Regions from separate parts of the Homo sapiens genome. Here region 2 is linked to region 1. Evidence: promoter capture Hi-C in human tissues and cell types (Jung and others, 2019). All regions are on one chromosome and are shown on one strand. Each heading gives the region's core, a stretch centred on a gene start or on the middle of the fragment in contact. The rest is flanking DNA. Distances are from core to core; before and after follow the strand shown.

Region 1 (5,021 bases), core at 915-3,414:
TAGCTCTGAAGAGCTCTAACATTTCCTAACTGGGGTGTTAGGGAAGAACTTTTATTTTTCTCTTCTTAAAAATTATTTAGGGCCGGGCGCGGTGGCTCACGCCTGTAATCCCAGCACTTTGGGAGGCCGAGGCGGGCGGATCACGAGGTCAGGAGATCGAAACCATCCTGGCTAACACGGTGAAACCCCGTCTCTACTAAAAATACAAAAAATTAGCCGGGCATAGTGGTGGGCGCCTGTAGTACCAGCTACTCGGGAGGCCGAGGCAGAAGAATGGCGTGAATCGGGGAGGCTGAGCTTGCAGTGAGCCGAGATCGCGCCACTGCACTTAAAAAAAAAAATTAAATAAATAAATAAATAAAAATTATTTAGGACCTTATCTGACTGGCTATAGCACAACTGAAATAGCAAAATCAAGATTGAAGGGCTATTTTCAGCACAGGTATTCCATTTCCAATCAAACTCAAGAACTCCAGCAGTGCAGGAACCACAGACCTCTTTAACTTTGTGCTGATTCCTAGGCATCCACCCTCTACTGGCTCCCCTCAACCTGGGGACATCCCTCCCCCATCCTGCAGCAACTTCGGGTCCATCAGTAGTCCACATTTTGGTAGGGCTTTGTTTATTCACAAGTCCACAACCCTGGAAGGAACTGGCTCCCTGGGCTGTGATGGCGCCTATTCTAAAGACTTCCTCAGAGTGGAAATTTAGGCAACAACAGCTCAATCGCTCTTTTATGACAAGTCAATCAGTAAAACAATGATAAAACCTCGGTTACCATAACTTAGAGGCTGTAATAGATTAACTTTTCAAGGGCACTTGATATAAGCTCTGAGTAGACTCTTTAGAGTCTTTATTCACACAGGGTTTTAGGAAACCACCCTCTTTCATAACTACTGTGTGTAAATAACCTCTATTTATCTAATTTGTAATTTTCCTACAGTCCCCTCAAAAGGGAACATTAAAAGAAATACTAAAGGAAGTTGGAAAGTTTGTCAATGTAAAGCTGGTCTTTGTAACCTTTCTACTCTTCATTTCCTGTGGCAATTGCACTTTTATTTCCCGTCTCTCTACACTCAGTAAACAAAACCATATTATCAAGGGAAAGACGTGAGCCCATTAACATTGTGAGCCCTCAGATTTCACTCACAAGAGACGATGCAGCACTTATCTGATGGAGCAGAAGCTCTAATTGCTTCGAGGTACAAGTCCATCTAAACCTCTGAGATCTCACCCGTCCCCGGTAAGCCCTTGCGCCCTCCAGACAAGCTCCTCAGTGAAAGCAAGCGCCGCACCGGTGCCTGTGCCAGTCTCCCAGAAAGGAGCATAAGGAGTGTTCCACCACCACTCTGGATTCTTTATTCCAACAACCCAGCCGGAGGGGAAAATCTGCTAAACCACCCCACAAGGCAGAAACTTTATCAAAATCTGGCACTACAACACTGGCCCTCATCACGCCGCCACAAATTGCGAGGGATAGAAGAAAGCTGCAAAGTCACGTTAAAAGGAAGCCTAGTCAAAAAGTGAAAATTTTGTCCCGCCCTAGGCACACAGCACTCACAGCATAAGATGTAGTTCCATGAGTCCTAGGAAAGGGGGAAGAAAGGAAAAAACCAAACATCTGCTCTAGGTTTAGAAGAGGGATAACATCAGCGCCAAGCAAACCGAAAGCGCAGAGGACTCAGAAGAGGGGAAGAGGAATAACTTTATCTGTCCTGGAGGTGGGCGAAGAGCAGTCTCCACCGGCCGCGCGTCACGCTCCCATTTAACCTTTTCCATGCCGCGACGCCCACACTCCGCCCTCGAGGGACTAGCCCCCCCCACGATCCAGAGCAGAAGCGGCTCGCCCCGCTGCATCCACGGGCCCTCACCCAAGCGTCCAGTCCTGCCTTTCTCCCCCCACCTCGCCCAATACCTGTCCGAGAGCAGGCGTTCTGCCCTCTCGCCCCGCCCTTGCCCAGGCAGCCCCCGGTCGCGACGGCTCTCCTCGGGGCTCGGGGGCGCTGGGCGGCGGCCCTGGGCTGCTTTGGCTAACTTGGCTGCGGGGCAGGCGCGAGGAGCGGCGCGCCGACCGGGCCGAGCGGAGAGGCCGCCCATTGGCCGGCCAGCGCCACGTGGCCGCCCCCGCCGGTATATTAGGCCACTATTTACCTCCGGCTCACTCGCCATGGGTTGGAGAGGGCAGCTCGGGTAGAGAGGGCTGGCGGAGCGGCGCAGACGGCGGCAGTCCTGCTCAGCCTCTGCCCGGCTCCGTACTCCGGCCCCGGCCTGCGCCCTCAGAAAGGTGGGGCCCGAACCATGAGCTCCTACCTGGAGTACGTGTCATGCAGCAGCAGCGGCGGGGTCGGCGGCGACGTGCTCAGCTTGGCACCCAAGTTCTGCCGCTCCGACGCCCGGCCCGTGGCTCTGCAGCCCGCCTTCCCTCTGGGCAACGGCGACGGCGCCTTCGTCAGCTGTCTGCCCCTGGCCGCCGCCCGACCCTCGCCTTCGCCCCCGGCCGCCCCCGCGCGGCCGTCCGTACCGCCTCCGGCCGCGCCCCAGTACGCGCAGTGCACCCTGGAGGGGGCCTACGAACCTGGTGCCGCACCTGCCGCGGCAGCTGGGGGCGCGGACTACGGCTTCCTGGGGTCCGGGCCGGCGTACGACTTCCCGGGCGTGCTGGGGCGGGCGGCCGACGACGGCGGGTCTCACGTCCACTACGCCACCTCGGCCGTCTTCTCGGGCGGCGGCTCTTTCCTCCTCAGCGGCCAGGTGGATTACGCGGCCTTCGGCGAACCCGGCCCTTTTCCGGCTTGTCTCAAAGCGTCAGCCGACGGCCACCCTGGTGCTTTCCAGACCGCATCCCCGGCCCCAGGCACCTACCCCAAGTCCGTCTCTCCCGCCTCCGGCCTCCCTGCCGCCTTCAGCACGTTCGAGTGGATGAAAGTGAAGAGGAATGCCTCTAAGAAAGGTAAGTCCGCGGGCCTTGGATGGGGCCACCTGGGGTTGGGGACGGAGCCTCCCCCGCGGAAATGCGCTGGGAGCGTGGTGTCGCTGCCTTTCCAGACAGCGGTTTGGGTTTTGTGGAGGAGACGCGTTCCCGGGCGAATTCCATGGAGTCTGCCTCGAGTACAGATTCGGAAAATGTGCCAGGCATTGAGAAAATTTCAGGAAGGAGCTCTCCGTGGAACTTCTCCTGGTACAAATTCTGTTCCTAGGGACCCAGGAGGGCTGCGCTGGGACTTTGATTCTAACTAGCTCCACTGCTCACCCACATTCTGTCCCCGGCCTCAGGCCTGGCTGACGCCCTGTCTTTACGTTGCAGGCAAACTCGCCGAGTATGGGGCCGCTAGCCCCTCCAGCGCGATCCGCACGAATTTCAGCACCAAGCAACTGACAGAACTGGAAAAAGAGTTTCATTTCAATAAGTACTTAACTCGAGCCCGGCGCATCGAGATAGCCAACTGCTTGCACCTGAATGACACGCAAGTCAAAATCTGGTTCCAGAACCGCAGGATGAAACAGAAGAAAAGGGAACGAGAAGGGCTTCTGGCCACGGCCATTCCTGTGGCTCCCCTCCAACTTCCCCTCTCTGGAACAACCCCCACTAAGTTTATCAAGAACCCCGGCAGCCCTTCTCAGTCCCAAGAGCCTTCGTGAGGCCGGTACTTGGGGCCGAAAAACTGTGGCCTGCAGAAGTCCCAGGCGACCCCCATCCCTATCTAGACTTAGGAGCTCAGTTTGGGATGGAGGTGGGAGAACAAAAATGAATAGGGATTTCACTTGGGAAATGAAGTACTTTAGTTGGCTTCCGAGTTCCAGACTATATGTCCAGATATTAATTGACTGTCTTGTAAGCCACTTGTTTGGTTATGATTTGTGTCTTATCAGGGAAAAGGTGCCCAGCTGCCAGCCCAGCTCCGCTGCTATCTTTGCCTCACTTAGTCATGTGCAATTCGCGTTGCAGAGTGGCAGACCATTAGTTGCTGAGTTCTGTCAGCACTCTGATGTGCTCAGAAGAGCACCTGCCCAAAGTTTTTCTGGTTTTAATTTAAAGGACAAGGCTACATATATTCAGCTTTTTGAGATGACCAAAGCTAGTTAGGGTCTCCTTGATGTAGCTAAGCTGCTTCAGTGATCTTCACATTTGCACTCCAGTTTTTTTTTCTTTAAAAAAGCGGTTTCTACCTCTCTATGTGCCTGAGTGATGATACAATCGCTGTTTAGTTACTAGATGAACAAATCCACAGAATGGGTAAAGAGTAGAATCTGAACTATATCTTGACAAATATTATTCAAACTTGAATGTAAATATATACAGTATGTATATTTTTTAAAAAGATTTGCTTGCAATGACCTTATAAGTGACATTTAATGTCATAGCATGTAAAGGGTTTTTTTTGTAATAAAAATTATAGAATCTGCTGCTCTCTGCTTTTCTTACACTCTTTAATAATGATTCTCTTTCTTTAAAGTTGATTCAGTTTCCTGTATTTGAATTTTCTTGATTCTGCTATGAGAATTTGTTTATGTTGATAACTTTTTTTTTTTTTTGACACGGAGTCTTGCTCTGTTGCCCAGGCTGGAGTGCAGTGGCACAATTCTGGCTCACCACAACCTCTGCCTCCCAGGTTCAAGTGATTCTCCTGCCTCACCATCCCCAGTAGCTGGGATTACAGGCATGAGCCACCATGCCCAGCTAATTTTTTGTATTTTTTTTAGTAGAGACGGGGTTTCACCATGTTGGCCAGGTTGGACTCGAACTCCTGACCTCAGGTGATCCGCCCACCTCGGCCTCACAAAGTGCTAGAATTACAAACGTGAGCCACCACGCCCAGCCGATAACTTTTAAAAATAATACTTCCTACAGGTTGTGTACACACCCAGCAAGTTATGGGCAATTAGTAGTTTAAGAGAGAAAACTACTCTGCCAAATATCCAAGTAACTATGGAAATACTTTCCTTACCTTGAGTGCCCTAATTTTATGGTAGGTGTGTAGTCTGCACATTTAACTCAAGTGTTAGGTGCCTACTGTGGAATG
Region 2 (4,748 bases), core at 780-3,279, 58 kb after region 1:
TGTCTACACTTATTCCCTACATGATCTCATTTAACTTCACGACTTTACCATCTAGAGGCTGATGAATTTCAAATTCCTTTACCTCTTCGCTGACCCCCAGGCTGCCTAGTTGCCATCTCCCATTGGCTATCTGATGAGCATCTGAGTATCTCAAATTTAACATGTCCTGACATAGCTCCATGTATTCCTTCTACTTCAAACCACCTTTTCAGTTCTATTTTAGTCAGTAGTAACTCCATCCTTCTAAAGCCTAAAACCTGGGCATCATGATTCACATCACTTTTTTTCTCATACCCCACATCCAATGCCTTAGCAACTTTTATTAGCTAATCTCAGTTTACAAGATACCTAAAGGATGAAGAGTTTTTGCATAAAGATAAAAAAGTAATGCATTTAAAAACAGAAATATTAAGACAATGCCAATATTGCCTCTGGGCCCACTGAATATGGGAGATGCAAAATGAATAGCCTCCACTCCAGAGGGCTGCAGTAGCTTGCTGGGGGTGTAGAATGTTCTTAAGTTCTCCATAGGCAAGAGGTGAGGCAGATCTTGTGAAGAGACAGAGGATGAGAAGATTTTGCTAATAGTGAAATTATTGCTCCATAGGATGCAAAGGAGGATGCTGGGGAGATAACAGTGGAAGATACACCACCACCACCACCATCATCATCCTGCCATCTAATATCCCATTAGAAGGATAGTAAGTACATACACACACAGATACTAACAGCTTGAATACATTATATATATGGCAATGTTAATAATTTAGTGCCAAGGCAAGGTAATCAATAATTCCTGAATCATAGCTAACTTATAAGAATTGAAGAGAAAGGACAAATATTATATGATTCCACTTATACGACATACCTAAGAATAGTCACATTCATAAAGACAGAAATTAGAATGGTAGTTACCAGGGGCTGGGACAAGGGAGGAATGGGGAATCAGTGTTTAATGGGCCCCGGGTTTCAGTTTGGGATGATGAAAAAGAGATGGATGGTGGTGATGGTAACACAACAATGTGAATGTGTTTAATGACACTGAACACTTAAAAATGATTAAAATGACAAATTTTATGTTATGTGTATTTTACATTAAAAAAGAATTGAAGCAGTGTGCATTTTAACATTTGGCTAATCCAAGGGAGTTCAGAGAGTGGCAACTGCACACTGTAACAGAGGTCTGACATATGAAAAGTGTTCTACACCCATTGTTGTATTTCATCCTCACCACGGTCTAATTAGGAAGGTATCGCCACTCCACCAGAGGAGAAGGAAAACTGAGAGTCAAAGAGATTTTTTCCAAAGATTTACAGCTAGTAAGTGATGGAGCTGGGAGTTACATCTGGGAACATGTGTTGTCTCCAGAGCTATGTGCTTTCTATGTGCTAACGACACCACACTGAAATAGGGGAGATAAAAACTGTGCTTTAGAAATGTTCTGAAATCCATGGTGTAAGCCTGCAGCACTGTAGTGGACCACTGGCAACCACCAGCAACAGATGGCCGAGGCAGGTCTTTTTAAACAAAAGCCACACTGTGCTCCAGTGGAGGAGCTAGTGGTGCAAACAGGAGCAAGCACCGTCAGAAGTGGCTGAGGCTGTGAATGAAAGCACAGTGCTCAGGGCGAACACTGTGGAAGGACTCATCATTTCACAGTGGGCTCATTAGCATTTCCTCACACACAGGCAGTGACCACCATTGTGGGGTATCACCCTTGGATAAAGCACAGCTGAAATATCAGATGCTCAGAGGTAAATTTAAAATTTTATATCTGTACTTTAGAAATATGAGTGCTTCATAAATATGAGGCATTAAAATGATTTAGCATCTACAAAGCAGTCTGGGAAGAGGAACGGTTTTATCAGACTGGTCTCATAAAGCTTGCTGACTGCCAAAACAATAGTGCCAAAAAGGAATTCGGTTCAGACAACTCGGGGAAGCTTATTATACCGCCAACTTGAACTTTTCTTCTTTTCCCACTAAAACATGTTTTGGAAAATATATGTATGTATCCTATTGTATAGGGAACTTCAAAAGGCTCAAGTGGACCACTGCAGAAACCTCAGAATACTGTCTTGAGAATACTTCAAAGATTTCCAAAACACATCAGTATAAAACATCTTCACTGTAAATTCAAGATGCCAATTGGGTTGCCAGTAAAGGCAAAGTTTAATATTCCCAGATGTTACTATACAGTATCTATGATATGTTGGCTGAATAGGGTATGCACATTTGCACATCATGGTATTTTTTCAAAATGTAAATTTAGTCCCTGGAGATATAACAATAGCAAGGCTGAATAAATTGTCTAAAAATTAAAATTCATATTTTTTTGTTAGTTTAAAAGATGGGGGAAAGCAGAGAGCAATAAAGCTAATTCATATACTAAATGTCATTTAAAAAATTGAGATAGTACCCCCAAAATCTTAAAAGCATGAATAGATCTGAAATAAATAGCTTTTTATTTTGGCAGTGATTATTCCCATTACCAGAACTTCGTGAGCATGCAATGAAAGCTAAGTATGCTCAATTACTTAATAAACTCTCTTTTTGAGAGGGTATCATAGCATACTCCATGTAAAAAGCATCTTCTATATTAAGACAGTTGAATTCTTTCTAGAATGTTCAAAACAAAATGAAGCATGATAATTTTACAACATCAAAGAAGACATACCTACATTAAAGAACTATTTTGGAGGATTTAGTAGTTCACAGCATCTTTGTCCTTGTTGGAGGTCATAGCAAGGATAGAATTGTGGAAGCAATTTGATTATGGAAGCTTTCTTTTACTTCACTTTATTTGTAGTTAAGCCTCAGTGGTGATAACCATAAAAAGTATTTTTAAGTACAAAGTTATTTTGGTTAACCCAAAGAACAATGTTTATCCAGTCGCTGTCTAGTTTAATTATTAAAAGGATTTTGAACTCAAAATATCATTATTGAAAGCAGAAAGGAAAAGTTGTCAAGTATGTATGTCTTTTATACAGGTAATATGGCTGAAGTATCAGTCTCCAAATACTTTGGTGTTGTGTAAGGATCTTCAAGGTAGAGGTCAGTAAACTAGGTTTCTAGACTCTATCACTAACCAGTCACGTGACCTAGGAAAAATAATTGCAGCTCTTTGCAACTATGTTTCTTCATTTTCAAAATAACATTGGATTAGACTAGTTTTTCTGACCAGCTTCATCACTGGAGGCCCTCGTTTCAGCAGCCGTCTTGGGACTCCTGATTGGGAACCTTTGATTAGCCTATGTGGTCAATTTGAGGTCAAACATACAATGTCTATCAGGTGTTAAGCTCAGATCATTGAAGTCCCAAGGTTTCCTTCCAACACTAACAGTCTATGATCTTGGGACTTATTTGGTGCCTATCCTTCAATCATCATCGACAATAATGAGTTATGGAATACCTATTATTTTACCACATTGTGCTAGTCAAGAGGATACTAAAAGGTTTAAAAGATTCCTGCTAGATCTGGTTGGGAAGATGGGTTAGATAGATAAAATTAAGGAAACAGAGTATTGTATACTGGGTGGGAATGACAACCTAGGCCCAGGGCATTTGGGAAGACCTTCAAAGAGGGGACTTTAGAGAGGTTAAGGTAGAATGTGGCAATGTGGTGATAAGGTCTTAACAGACAAGATAAATGGAGTCACCAGAAACATGAGAGCTGGAATATTCAATGCCTGGCTTAGAATAAAGAGTAAGGTAGTTTGGCTGGAAAGAATTGTGTTATTATTTAATGAGTCTTTAATCCCAAATTGTATACAGCAGCTTAGCTGTTATTTTAGCAAATGTGGTAGCTATTATTGCTATATTTAGCCAACCTGTGGTACATCAGAGTATCCAACTGTTTACAATTACTTTTATTAACCCTAGGGAAATTATTGATGTGTCTCAGAATGTAACACTGACACAGTGGAACAATCGACGAATATTTATTGAATCCATATAGTGTGCGAGTCTTTATGGGGTATAAAACTGGATTGGAAAGTTTCTTGCCCTAAGGGAAAAAACTAGTTGCAGTTATAAAATGGCTGCAAGGAAAAAACCAAAATAAGGTACAAGGCTATATAGTGAATTTAGCACTTTTCAAAATGTAAACCTTCAAGCAACCCACAGTTACAAAAGTGATCTTATTCATACCCATGATGAGAAAGATTACCTTGGTACACTGATCACCCCAAGCCTGTAGCTCTGGTCCAGGTTACTTCACCCCACCAACTCTAGGACAGGATTCCTTTACATTTGTTCACACTACATATCCTCTACCTAGTGACCTCCAAACATTCCAAAGTTTTTTAAATTGTATTTTTGTTTTATAGGTCCTGTGAGATTTATGCTTTAAAGAGATTCTGTTCTGATGTGTTTCCAGGATTTGTTTCAAGATTTAGAACTCCTTTTAGCAGTTCTTGTAGTGGTGGCTCGGTAGTGGCGAATTCTCTCAGCATTTGTCTGAAAAAGACTATCTTTCCTTCGTGCATGAAGCTTAGTTTTGCTGGATACAAAATTCTTGGCTGATAATTGTTTTGTTTGAGGAGGCTGTAGATAGGGCCCCATTCCCTTCTAGCTTGTAGGTTTCTGCTGAGAAACTGCTGTTAACCTGATAGGGTACCTGGTGCTTTTGTCTCACAGCTCTTAAGATTCTTTCCTTCATCTTAACTTTAGGTAACCTGATGACAATGTACTTAGGTGATGGTCTTTTCGTGATAAATTTCTCAGATGTTCTTTGTGCTTCTTGTATT

What was found. The method cuts DNA at HindIII sites, captures the fragments that hold promoters and counts their contacts. A contact is called where the count stands out against the background at its distance.
Region 2: a contact is called between a fragment that was not itself captured here and the fragment with the promoter of HOXD1 in region 1, in 1 of the 25 tissues and cell types used here (hippocampus).

Annotation. Positions count from the first base shown.
Region 1 is chr2:176,186,504-176,191,524 of GRCh38, forward strand. HOXD1 (homeobox D1) reads left to right here and starts at 2,165. Exons shown (of 2, transcript NM_024501.3): 1 at 2,165-2,950; 2 at 3,305-4,404. The coding sequence starts at 2,299. The coding sequence ends at 3,639. It overlaps HAGLR (HOXD antisense growth-associated long non-coding RNA), which reads right to left and starts at 2,455. Exons shown (of 3, transcript NR_033979.2): 1 at 2,311-2,455. It overlaps MIR7704 (microRNA 7704), which reads left to right and starts at 2,340; the gene lies at 2,340-2,398. The HindIII fragment of the contact is 12,505 bases long and covers 1-5,021 here.
Region 2 is chr2:176,244,966-176,249,713 of GRCh38, forward strand. No RefSeq gene overlaps it. Among named protein-coding and RNA genes, the nearest start is that of MTX2, 22 kb to the right of the region's middle. The HindIII fragment of the contact is 3,213 bases long and covers 424-3,636 here.